Regions from separate parts of the Homo sapiens genome. Here regions 1 and 3 are each linked to region 2. Evidence: promoter capture Hi-C in 16 types of primary human blood cells and fetal thymus (Javierre and others, 2016). All regions are on one chromosome and are shown on one strand. The core of a region is centred on a gene start or on the middle of the fragment in contact, and the rest is flanking DNA. Distances in the headings are between cores, read along the strand shown.

Region 1 (3,593 bases), core at 297-2,796, 720 kb after region 2:
TCAAGCAGTGGGCGATGCATACACACTTTGGCCTCTGCTGCAAAGAGGGAAGAGGATGCCCTTAAACGAAAGGCTTTTTCTTTCATTCTCAGTATCAAGAAACAGACCTATAAAAAGTGCCCTTCCTAATGGATATCTGCTCCTCACTCTGAGGGCACTGACTTAGTTTTTCGTGAAACTTGAGAGACCACAGGGCTTCCGACATTTGCTGGCTGTCATGCAGAAGAGGCAAATCACAGGCTACATGTTCTCGCCTTCTGATTTAATAAGGTGCAAACTCATGGGGGAGGCTCTAACTGCAGCTTTGTCCTCAAGGAAGTCTGGGGCTTATCAGGTGCAATGATCCCTCTCTAAGGATGTGCAATACTGATGGGACGATAGGGAAGATTCTCGTTGCTAGGGGGAGTCCTGACAGAGGCAAAGCCCCTGTGTGAGCTGAAGAAAACTATGGAGAGACCATATACTGGCCGGGCGCAGTGGCTCACGCCTGTAATCCCAGCACTTTGGGAGGCCAACGTGGGCAGATCACTTGAGGTCAGGAGTTCGAGACCAGCCTGGCCAACATGGTGAAACCCCATCTCTACTAAATATACAAAACTTAGACGGGCATGGTGGCGGACACCTGTAATCTCAGCTACCCAGGAGGCTGAGACAGGAGAATCATTTGAACCCAGGCGGTGGAGGTTGAAATGAGCCGAGATGGCGCCACTGCACTCCAGCCTGGGCGACACAGTAAGACTCCATCTCCAAAAAAAAGAAAGACCATATAACCTCCATTGGTTACATTTTTTCCATACACAAAAAACTTAATAGCTTAGCTGAAGCCTCACGGTGCTTTAAAGCAGGGCATGGGCAAGTAATTTCTAATCAGTCCCTCTACCCCCTTTCACAGCAGCCACCTAAGCCAGGCCACACAGACCCTGAGGCCTGCCATCATGTGGGACACTGCTCCCCTGCCAAGCAGAAAACTAATAAAGCAATCAAAGTCAAGACAAAGGAAGAGCATGTTTGAAGTCAATGAAAAGCAACCTGTTAGCCCAAAGGCCCTGGGAACCTCCTTCCCAGCAAGAACTGAGAAACAATTACTTCTGAAAACCAGTTCATTTGTAAGAAGATGACCTTAAACGTCCCCTAATTAGAGCTACAGTAAGTTGGTCTACTTTAAAATTAATTTTTAAAAGAAACCCTACAGTTCTACTTTCTGTGGCAGAGCCATGATCTAAAATTAGCCACTAATAAAGTCCTTCTCTCAATGACTTGCGGGGTGGTGGGGAAGGAGGGCCCTGTGTGAACATTCAAGGAGACGGGTGGCAGCCGTGCCGTCAAGGGCAGTGACTCGCATGGCCTACCCGGCACAGGTAGGCACGGGCATACACCGACACTAGTGGGTCTCCGATCCCTCTGATCATGCATGTCAACCGGGGCAGGCACTCTGAAATTCCCCTGCAAGAGACAAAAACAGGCCAGCATTATATTCGACGTGAGAACTCGCTGTTCTTTAATTTTTTAAATAAAGATAAAGACTTCCTAAATTTCAGGGAGGGGGGGAAAAATCAAGTTTCAGTAACAAACCAAGGTCAAAGTTTCAGTTTTCTAAGGCAATGTAACAACAGTCTTTCTCTTCTGATACAATTCATTCATTGAATGATTTCTTTCATCGTTATCATTTGCTCAGTGGTGGAGGCTAACCACATTTTTTCCCCAGTCGAGGTCACATTTATTTTATTAATTTTAACAGTTTTTGTCTTCAATTATTTTCCATCGACTGGGCACCCCTTGATCTTCTCTCCACATGTATTTTCGTTTGCCACAGATTTACTGTCCCGTACCCTGTTCCTTCCGTGAATCTCAGGCTGGCATCTGACATCCTCCAACCACCAACAATGTGAATTACAATTTATTTCTCCTGCAACGTATGTCTTCCCTCTGCCTAAGGCATTATCCTCCTCCAACTGGTGAGGCAAAATAATGTTTCTTCAGCCCCCATGTTATTCCCCCAAACTATTCCAGGCAACCCTAGATCCAAATCCAACACACTTGAGATAAATTCTAAATCCAATCGGTAGAGCTATCTGTGGAGCACCATGAATCAGTCACTCCCGGGCTTCAAGGAATTTATTATCTAGCTATCTAACATGACTCAGCATTTCACCTGCTCTGCAGAAAGCAGATCTGGGTCCCCCACGTCCTGTAACTACTCTCAAAACATTGTGATAAATTGAGTGGCATGGACCTAAGCCACTAAGGGCAAAGGCTTCTGCTTCTGACGTCATTTTCATCATCATCATCATCAACAGCAGCCAACATGGAGGATGGGCCCACCGTGTGCCAGGGGTGACTCTCATTGTTGCATGTGTGACCCAAAGGACCCCCTCAGACCTCTTCTTAGGGTCATGTTCCCAGGAGAGGGAGCCAGAGGTTCTGAGGCTGTAAGTAACTTGTTCAAGACCATACAGCTAGTACCAGTACAGCCAAGATTCAAATCCAGTTGAGCTGATCTTCCATGACCTCCTTAACCAACTTCTCCAGGCTTGAGTTTTCCTCTCTCTAATATGGGGATTAGGATGGTGTCTCTACTTCATTCAGTTTTCATTTGGATTCAATGAGAAAAAGAACAGAAGGTGCTTAACACACATTAAGTACTCAGTGAATAATGGCTACTATTACATTGCCATTACTATCTGTGTACACATGGGAGATTTTTAGAAATTTTATGGTTCTAGATTTTACCGAAGAGCCTTACGTTTTGGAGAGGAATTTGTTACATTTCAGGATGGATGCCTCCACGTAACTACAAAAACATCCTGTTAAGGAAGATGTTTTCCAGAAGGTCTACTCCCTATGGAGAAAAGACTAAACTATCCATGAATAGAAGTAGGCGGGTCTTAGGAGATGGGGACCACAGTGGCCCTCAACAATCCAGCGAACTAAGGTAGCTTATGGTTTCTACATATGGTTTTCAAAGTTTCATACTTATTTGAAATAAATTGTGGGAAATGTTATACGTTGATTCATAGTTGCATGCTGAAATATAAACTGGGTTTTGAGCATTTCTAATCAATGCTTTATGGGGAAAGAAAGAACTTTAGGTAACTAAGATGGAATTTATGTATAAGTCAAATTATCTGTTCTTCAATAGTAGCATTTGCCCTGCAAAGCTTGACCCTGTTCTTTCAAGTTCTTGGAATCAGAGAAAACACAAATATGAAGCATTTTAATTGAGAGAATTAAGGTGGGAATGTTCCTCAAGGAAACAAATGCTTGACACATGGCATCGTATTCAAAGTAAAAGACAAAAAACTGGAAAGAGCAAGAGTCCAAGGGTTTCTACAATGTGGCTTGCCCTGTATGTGTTTTCAGGCTAGCAACCGTAACGGGACCAAACTTTCAATAAGAATGTCAGGGCATCCCATCACATGGCTTCTATTAACAGTACAATTCTTTTAGCCTATCTTTAAAATCATCAGACCAAAAAAAAAAAAAAGGATACAATCTTGGAATGAGTTCCCTGATGGAGGCAATCTTGAAAAACCAATTTAGGCATGTTTCCTTGGCCGTGTCATTTGCATTCTCTGGAGAAAAGTGATCTGTAA
Region 2 (3,511 bases), core at 517-3,016:
TCAGCGGCAGTGAGAGGTCCAGCAATCAATAGGTAGATGGAACTGAAGTTCAAGGGAGTAGCGAAAGCTGGGGATACGGATTCAGAACTCACCAGCCTGGAGATGGTATGTGAAACCATGAGATAACTTGATACCTCCCAGGGAGAGTTTATGACGTGAAAAGAAAAATGGGACCTAACCAGCATTCTTAGAGACAGGATCTTGTAGCAACAGAGCAGAAATCTCCAGGTAGAAACAGGAGAATCAAGAAAATATGAACATGCGGAGTCAAGGAAATGCAAGGTACCCGGAACAAGCAGTAGGCAAATCCAATCACAAAGGAGCAGAAACAAACTACCCAGTGGATTTGGCTATAAAGTTGTAGCTACATGGTTCAGATTGGAATGGAGAAGCCAGAAGAGGGATGGAGGAACTGACTTTGAAAAGGAGGAACATCGCCTTATCAGAAGTTGGAGGGGGAAGGGGTGGAGGATGGAGACCAGTATTTATATGTTTACAGGGGAAGGAGCAAGGTCAGGTGTTGTGGCCTAAATTGTTTTTGAAGTAGGGTACCAGATATCTGCTGAGAAAGGTGGTGTGAGTGGGTGATAATAGCTGCAGAGACCATTTAAGAGGAATGGGAAGGTTAAGAGTGGCCACTGGGGAGACTGGGATGGGCACCTGGCCAGACTGAATGGATCAGTAGGTGATTTAGTGGGCCCAGTTGTCACAAGTTCCACATTTTAGAGACTATTTATTCTCCAGTTGCTCTGGGAGTAGAGAAGGTGGCTTGTAGCACCTTTTCTTTTTCCAGGTTGAGGTTTTGTAGAAGGTGTTACCAATGCCAAGACCCTCCTGCTCCCTTGACTCCAGTTGCCTTGGCTCCTTAAGGAGTCCCAGAGTGACAGAGAAGAAGCAGTGGCCATTTTTTCTGCAAAAGCTTTGGCTCTTTTATGAAGTCCATGATTTCTACCATGTCATGAAAGCCAGGTCCAAGCCTGGAGTTAATAAGTCCAAGATCCTCTACAGCCTCTTCTCAGTCTCATGCCTTCCAATCTCTAGGGCAGCCTACATATCAAAAGGGATTTACAGGGGCTACTCTGGTGCTTCTTTTGTCCAAGAACCTTTGTCTGTCCTTTGCCATTCCAAAATCCATCATCACCAAATTAGCCATTCCAAAACTGCTCAGCATTAGAAATCCGGAGTTGGGTAGATTCTATGGACCAATAAATGGAATTTTTCGAAACATCCACACTCCCTTCTTTCCTTTCCTATGTGTCCTCTTAGTCTAACTGGCCCCAAGCTCAGTGGCCTTCAGACAGAAGCAGAAATGTTCCAAGATGATTAGCTAGGAACACAAGGTACAACTGAAAATCCATTGTGCAAACAAGTGCCTGTTTGATTTTCTCTTCACTTCCCTTTGGGTATTAAGCTTCCTTTCAATTCGTGTTTGGTTTCTGGTAATAAATATGGCACCAGTTTCATTGATTAATTATGAAGATTAAATGTGAGAAGTCAAGAACGCAAAGCAGTGCCCAGCATGTTCAGCATTCAGCACACAGCACTATTGTTTGTAGGAAGCATTCGCACAATGCTGAGACAGCTGGAAGGGTTGACATTGTGAGGGGAGGGCCCTTCTTTCACCATCCTTTGCGTAAATGGCTTATCTCACCTCCACTCAACAAGCCCAGTGTATGGCCTAGAACTCCCATCATACCTGTGCACCAATTGAGGAGAGACACATGGGTGGGAAATTGCAATAAAAAGACGGCCCACAGCAGGCTGCATTCCCATGGCTGGCCAGAGGAGGAACGCTTTGTGTTCTCATCGGAGGTAAGTCCTGCTTTAAGCCCCAGGAGGCTTCCTCCTAATCCTGGGAAATCTTGATCCACTGGACATGCTAGGATTCTTTGTTTCTGGAAATTTTTAGAACCCAGCAAGTAGTTTGGACCCTGGCCATTGTCAAGTGCTCCAGGTACCACTCTATGTCCAACTCAGTCATGCTTCCAGTCATCTGCGATGCTCCAGGCCTACGGACGCCACCCTCTTCCTTGTCCCAGATATTCCCACCAGGGAACTAGGTCTCTATTGGGATCTCATCTCTAAGAATCACCAATCCTGGGTGCTTCCCTATCCCTGCTGTCTCATAGCATACTCATGGTATCCCTGCCCGAAACCGATCTCTATTTTCCACTGAAGTCTTCCAGAGGTTGTAGGAAGTTATCCAAAGATTTGGCCATTTAGGGAAAGTATTTCCCAGAAAAGTAAATGCCATCCAAATGCTGGCAGGCTTTTTTGCAGCTCTTTCTTTCTGCCTCGCCACCGCCCCCAACCCCCATTGATTTATTTATTCATCCTTAATCCTCTACTGAGTACTCCTTGTGTGCCAGATTCTGTACTAGGAGCAAGGAACATGAGGCTCGGTTTGGCATGGTTCCACAGTCACAGAAATCTACATCCATAGAGGACATTTCAGGGGGCTCTTAGCAGCACCCAATGCATAAAACTAAGAAAGGGCAGCCATTACTTTTGTGTGCAGGTATTCACAGGTACCATATCCCTTTTTCTCTATCCAATCTCCAAAGAGCCTCTACTTCCACCTGAGCAGGGACCATCCTGAGACCTTTCTAGGACATTCTGCAGTACTAGCCAGCTCTAAGCTTGCCTTTGGTTTGCTTACTGTCAATTTTATCACCCATTATCTCGCTCTATCTGTCCATAAGTCACACCTACTTTGAAACAATGCAGCTCTTTATGAAGGAAGTCAACGGATCTGTTTCTAAGAACATAGACCTATGCCCTAATCTTATCTTGGTCTTTTCTTTCCCATAGCTGCATGGGAAGTCTGCATACAGCAAAGTGACCTGCATGCCTCACCTTATGGAAAGGATGGTGGGCTCTGGCCTCCTGTGGCTGGCCTTGGTCTCCTGCATTCTGACCCAGGCATCTGCAGTGCAGCGAGGTAAGTATTCTGCTCACCTGGCATCTCAGATGTCAAGGAAGACCTAGCAAGTGAGGATAGAAGTGCAGAGAAGGTGGCTCAGGTAAGGAAGAGGAATTGGCAGTTCTAAAGCAAAAACTCAGAGCTAGAAGTCAAGGGAAACATAATGAGAAACAATGGAAATCAAGTCACAATCTCTCAAAGAGCCTAATCAGAAATTCCTCTGAAAGGGCAGTGGGAGCCAGTTAACATAATTTCCCATGCCCATATCTTTGGGAGATTAGAGACCCCAGATTAAAGAAGATCAAGAAATACATAACTCAGTCACCTTGTGCTGGCAAGTGCCTTCTCCTTTTCCTGAAAGGGCTAGATTAAGTGATCTCTTTATGAAGTGGGCAATTCAGATACTTGCAGAAAGGAGTCTCAGGCTTAGAATTAGAGTGCAAATTTCAGCCCCTGGAGGAGGGTGGGAGAGGGTACTGAGCTCATTGGAGGCCTCCAGTGGAAAAATACAATCTAAGAATAACAAATGCAGTGATTCCTTGTCTTAAAATAAGTACATGCATGAGCAAAGTTTGAAAATCTTTTTTT
Region 3 (3,766 bases), core at 1,001-3,500, 680 kb after region 2:
AAATAAAATCAAAATAAATGATTGGGATGTAGATGATCAATAAATATTTACTGAGAGAAGAAACTAATGAATGAAAATACTTACATGAATCAACTGCACAAGAACAGGCTCCAGATTGCAAAACATCGACCTGGACTCAACATAAAAACTCAGCTGTTGTTCAAAATCACGGCCAAAGGAAACCTAGAATCAAGGAGAAAGACGCTGAAAGGGACAGTGGTATTTTTAGAGAGAACGCAGGCACATGGTATGACTGAAATATTATTATTGCCACCTCATCTTTATGACGTGGGCACTGGACTAGAACCTAAGAAGTCGAAGGGTATAAAACAGAAGCTCAGAGTGTAAGCAGAATTTTCCAGACTCTGAAGGAAACCACTGGAAAGGGAATAATGGGATATTGTTTGTCAGCTGTGGCCTTTTCACAGAACATAAATGTGGTTATTGGGGGCCCCTTGTCAGAAGGTTTGCCATCGTAACAGTCACACCTTTCTGCTTCCTGATGGGGACCCAACCTTGGCAGCTCACTGGTGGCTACAGAAGCCATAGATGGAAGTTTTTCCACCATTAAACATCCTCTCTTCTCCTATTTCTTCAAATTTATGAATAGCTGGTTAGTAAGAAAAACTTTACTGTACATCAATCATTTTTGTCCAGATGAGGTTTAACATTGCCATTTCCATTACAGCTATCATGTTTCATATCTGATTTCCTTATATTCTTTTCCATAATAACTTGGTAACTTTCAGACAATGCCGTAAAAAGATAAATACCACATGATGAGTACAAAAAGCAAGGGCAAAGGAGAGCGACTTGGGAAAATCCATATGTCTGTTTCCTAACACGGGAATTGAAAGGCTAATCCTGAATTTTCATCAAAATTGATATTTTACCCGCAGAGTCAGGTAGACTAATCAACCCGCACTATTGAACAAGTCAGAATTTCAAGGTTATTTTCAAAGTGATCTCGTCATTTTCATCTCAGTCAGCTTTGGTCCTGACTTTTCTATTAAAATAGAAGATATTTGCAGCAGTTGGTGTTTTGGCTTAGAGCACCCAGAATGAAGGTGAAGACTGTTCAGGCTGGGATAGTATAATGGTGGGATGTTCCCAAAGGAGGCTGCAGGAAACCTTCCCACTGTGCTTGCCCTTCTGCAATGTCTCTGTGGACTACCCCCCATCAAAAGGCAGAGCCTCTTCCCCTCCAGACTGGGTCCCCTCAAGACTGTGATTTGCTTTGACCCACAGATTGCAGTAGAATATGGCAGGGGTTTACTGTGTGATTTCTTTTTTTTTTTTCCCAAGACAGAGTTTTGCTCTGTTGCCCAGGCTGGAGTGCAGTGGCATGGTCTTGGCTCACCGCAACCTCTGCCTCCCGGGTTCAAGCGATTCTCCTGCCTCAGCCTCCCGAGTAGCTGGGATTACAGGCATGCACCACAACACCCGGCTAATTTTGTATTTTTAGCAGAGACAGGGTTTCACCATGTTGGTGAGGCTGGTCTCGACCTGACCGCAGGTGATCCACCTGCCTCAGCCTCCCAAAGTGCTGGGATTACAGATGTGAGCCACCGCGCCTGGCCTCACTGTGTGATTTCTAAGCCTTGGCCTTAAAATGCCTTGCTGCTTCTGTCTGTGCCTTCATAGAAGGCAGCACCAAGTAAGAGAGCTCAACTGGAATCACTGACTGAGAACAGTGGTGAGAAAGAGAGGACATGGAAGAAAACCAAGATGCCCCAGCCCATATCCAGCACCAAAACCCTGGAGAAGGGAACAAGGCCACTGTGGATCCTCCAGCCCAATCGTGCCACGCCAGTGCCACACCACACTCCCTGTAGCAGCCTGGTTACCAAGCTGATCCGCAGAGTTTGAGAACTAATAAAAAACTCATGCTGGGCGCAGTGGCTCAGGCCTGTAATCCCAACACTGTGGGAGGCCAAGGCTGGAGGATTGTTTGAAACCAGGAGTTGGAAACCCCTGTCTCGACCCCCCCAAAAAAAACAGCAAAAAAAAGCCCTGTTATTTAAAGCCACTAAGTTTTGGGATGAGCTGTTACTCAGCAGTAGATAAGTAAAACAGATGGGGAGTGGATATCTGGCGTTTTGCCTGCCCGGCATAGTTTCCATCACCGTCTGATGATCTGCATCAGCTGCTTCAGGACACACCTTCTTTCCACTCTCGGCCCTCCTGACTCAGGTCACCCAGGTGTGCTTGGGGCCACGACCCATGTTAATCCAAAGAGACTCAATCCCAGGACTTTGCTGGAATCCCACCTGCTGGGCTGCAGAGCTGGGGGGGATGGAAACCTGGAGCTCTGGTGGGGCAAGCCCAGCTGAGCCGGAGGCCAACAGGGCAGAGCCCAGGGCTAAAGACAGACAGGGGGCTGGGTGCAGTGGCTCACGCCTGTAATCCCAGCACTTTGGGAGGCCGAGGCGGGCGGATTACGAGGTCAGCAGATCGAGACCATCCTGGCTAACACAGTGAAACCCCGTCTCTACTAAAAATACAAAAAATTAGCCGGGCGTGGTGCCGGGCGCCTGTAGTCCCAGCTACTCGGGAGGCTGAGGCAGGAGAATGGCGTGAACCCGGGAGGCGGAGCTTGCAGTGAGCTGAGATCGCGCCACTGCACTCCAGCCTGGGCGACAGAGCGAGACTCCATCTCAAAAAAAAAAAAAAAAAGAAAAAAGACAGGGAAGGCAGGTCCTGATGACATCCCGGAGACCCTGAGCCCGGCTGCTGCTTTGGAGAGTTCCAGCCCCTGGACTTTTTGTCACATGAGCCAAGAAATCCCTCCTCCCATCACCCTCCCGCCCCCCACCTTTTTCCTCTTAAGCCAGTTTGTCTTGGCTCTCTTTGCCCCCAGGGGAGTCCTGGCTAATGTAAGATGTTTTCTAATTTCATTTTATCTCACTAAGAATGAAAAGCACCAGAGAACATAATGTTAACTGCTTTCGCCAACATAAGGATAAACAATTACATCACACTTCCAAGTGCACTGAAACTTCTTCCCTAATACTTACCATTTTTATAAATCCATTAATCAAATATGACAGCATTCTTTTCTCATCCTCAAGAGTGAGTGCACTAAAATCAATAATTGTACATAATTAACACGGAGGTAATAGATGAAAGTTTCTAAAGAAAAAAATACACAAGGGGTAAGTAATTTAACAGGTAAGAACATTTTGCATTTTCTAGATTTAAAAAACTGCCAACAGGCTGCTTATTTTTCCTTTGATAAAAATACATAATCACAATTAACATAATTTAAATATGTTTCTCATCTCCCTCAAATATGCTGTTCTCAAGATAGATTTATTAACAAGAAAAGAAAAGGTAACTTTCACTTCTTTGGAACTTGGGCAGCAAGGTCTAATGTCAAATTTTGTATTTCAGGGAAATTTCATTGAATATTTTATTTAAAAAATCTCCAGCGGGGTGTGCTGGTTCACACCTGTAATCCCAGCACTTAGGAAGGCAGAGGTAGCAGGTTCGTTTGAGCCTAGGAGTTGGAGATCAACCTGGGCAACATGACGAGACCCCGTTCTCCCCAAAAAGGAAACAGAAATATTTCCAATGTACAGCAAAGTTGAAAGAATTTTCCAGTAAACACCCATACACCATCGAAATCCTGCCATCACCATTTTACTTGTTTTACACATAATTATCCATTCCCCTCTCCATCCATCAATCCATCTTATTTTTTTGATACATTGTAAAGTAAATCTCAGGTCTCAGTTGCTTCTATTTAATAGAAAATGTAACACAA

The links. Contacts are between HindIII fragments. The CHiCAGO score rates a contact against its expected background, and 5 or more counts as called.
Region 1: a fragment that was not itself captured here is called in contact with the fragment with the promoter of GP2 in region 2 in 1 of 17 cell types (M2 macrophages); the score reaches 6.2 in M2 macrophages.
Region 3: a contact is called between a fragment that was not itself captured here and the fragment with the promoter of GP2 in region 2, in 1 of 17 cell types (M2 macrophages). The highest score is 5.9, in M2 macrophages.

Annotation. Positions count from the first base shown.
Region 1 is chr16:19,608,172-19,611,764 of GRCh38, reverse strand. It overlaps VPS35L (VPS35 endosomal protein sorting factor like), which reads right to left. Exons shown (of 31, transcript NM_020314.7): 10 at 3,491-3,587; 11 at 2,744-2,791; 12 at 1,350-1,443. Among named protein-coding and RNA genes, the nearest start is that of VPS35L, 54 kb to the right of the region's middle. RefSeq lists an enhancer at 1,344-2,543. The HindIII fragment of the contact is 3,228 bases long and covers 1-3,160 here.
Region 2 is chr16:20,325,768-20,329,278 of GRCh38, reverse strand. It overlaps GP2 (glycoprotein 2), which reads left to right and starts at 1,766. Exons shown (of 11, transcript NM_001502.4): 1 at 1,766-1,812; 2 at 2,812-2,941. The coding sequence starts at 2,848. The HindIII fragment of the contact is 1,228 bases long and covers 1,414-2,641 here.
Region 3 is chr16:19,644,201-19,647,966 of GRCh38, reverse strand. VPS35L (VPS35 endosomal protein sorting factor like) reads right to left here. Exons shown (of 31, transcript NM_020314.7): 23 at 3,018-3,081; 24 at 85-183. Among named protein-coding and RNA genes, the nearest start is that of KNOP1, 72 kb to the left of the region's middle. The HindIII fragment of the contact is 8,316 bases long and covers 1-3,766 here.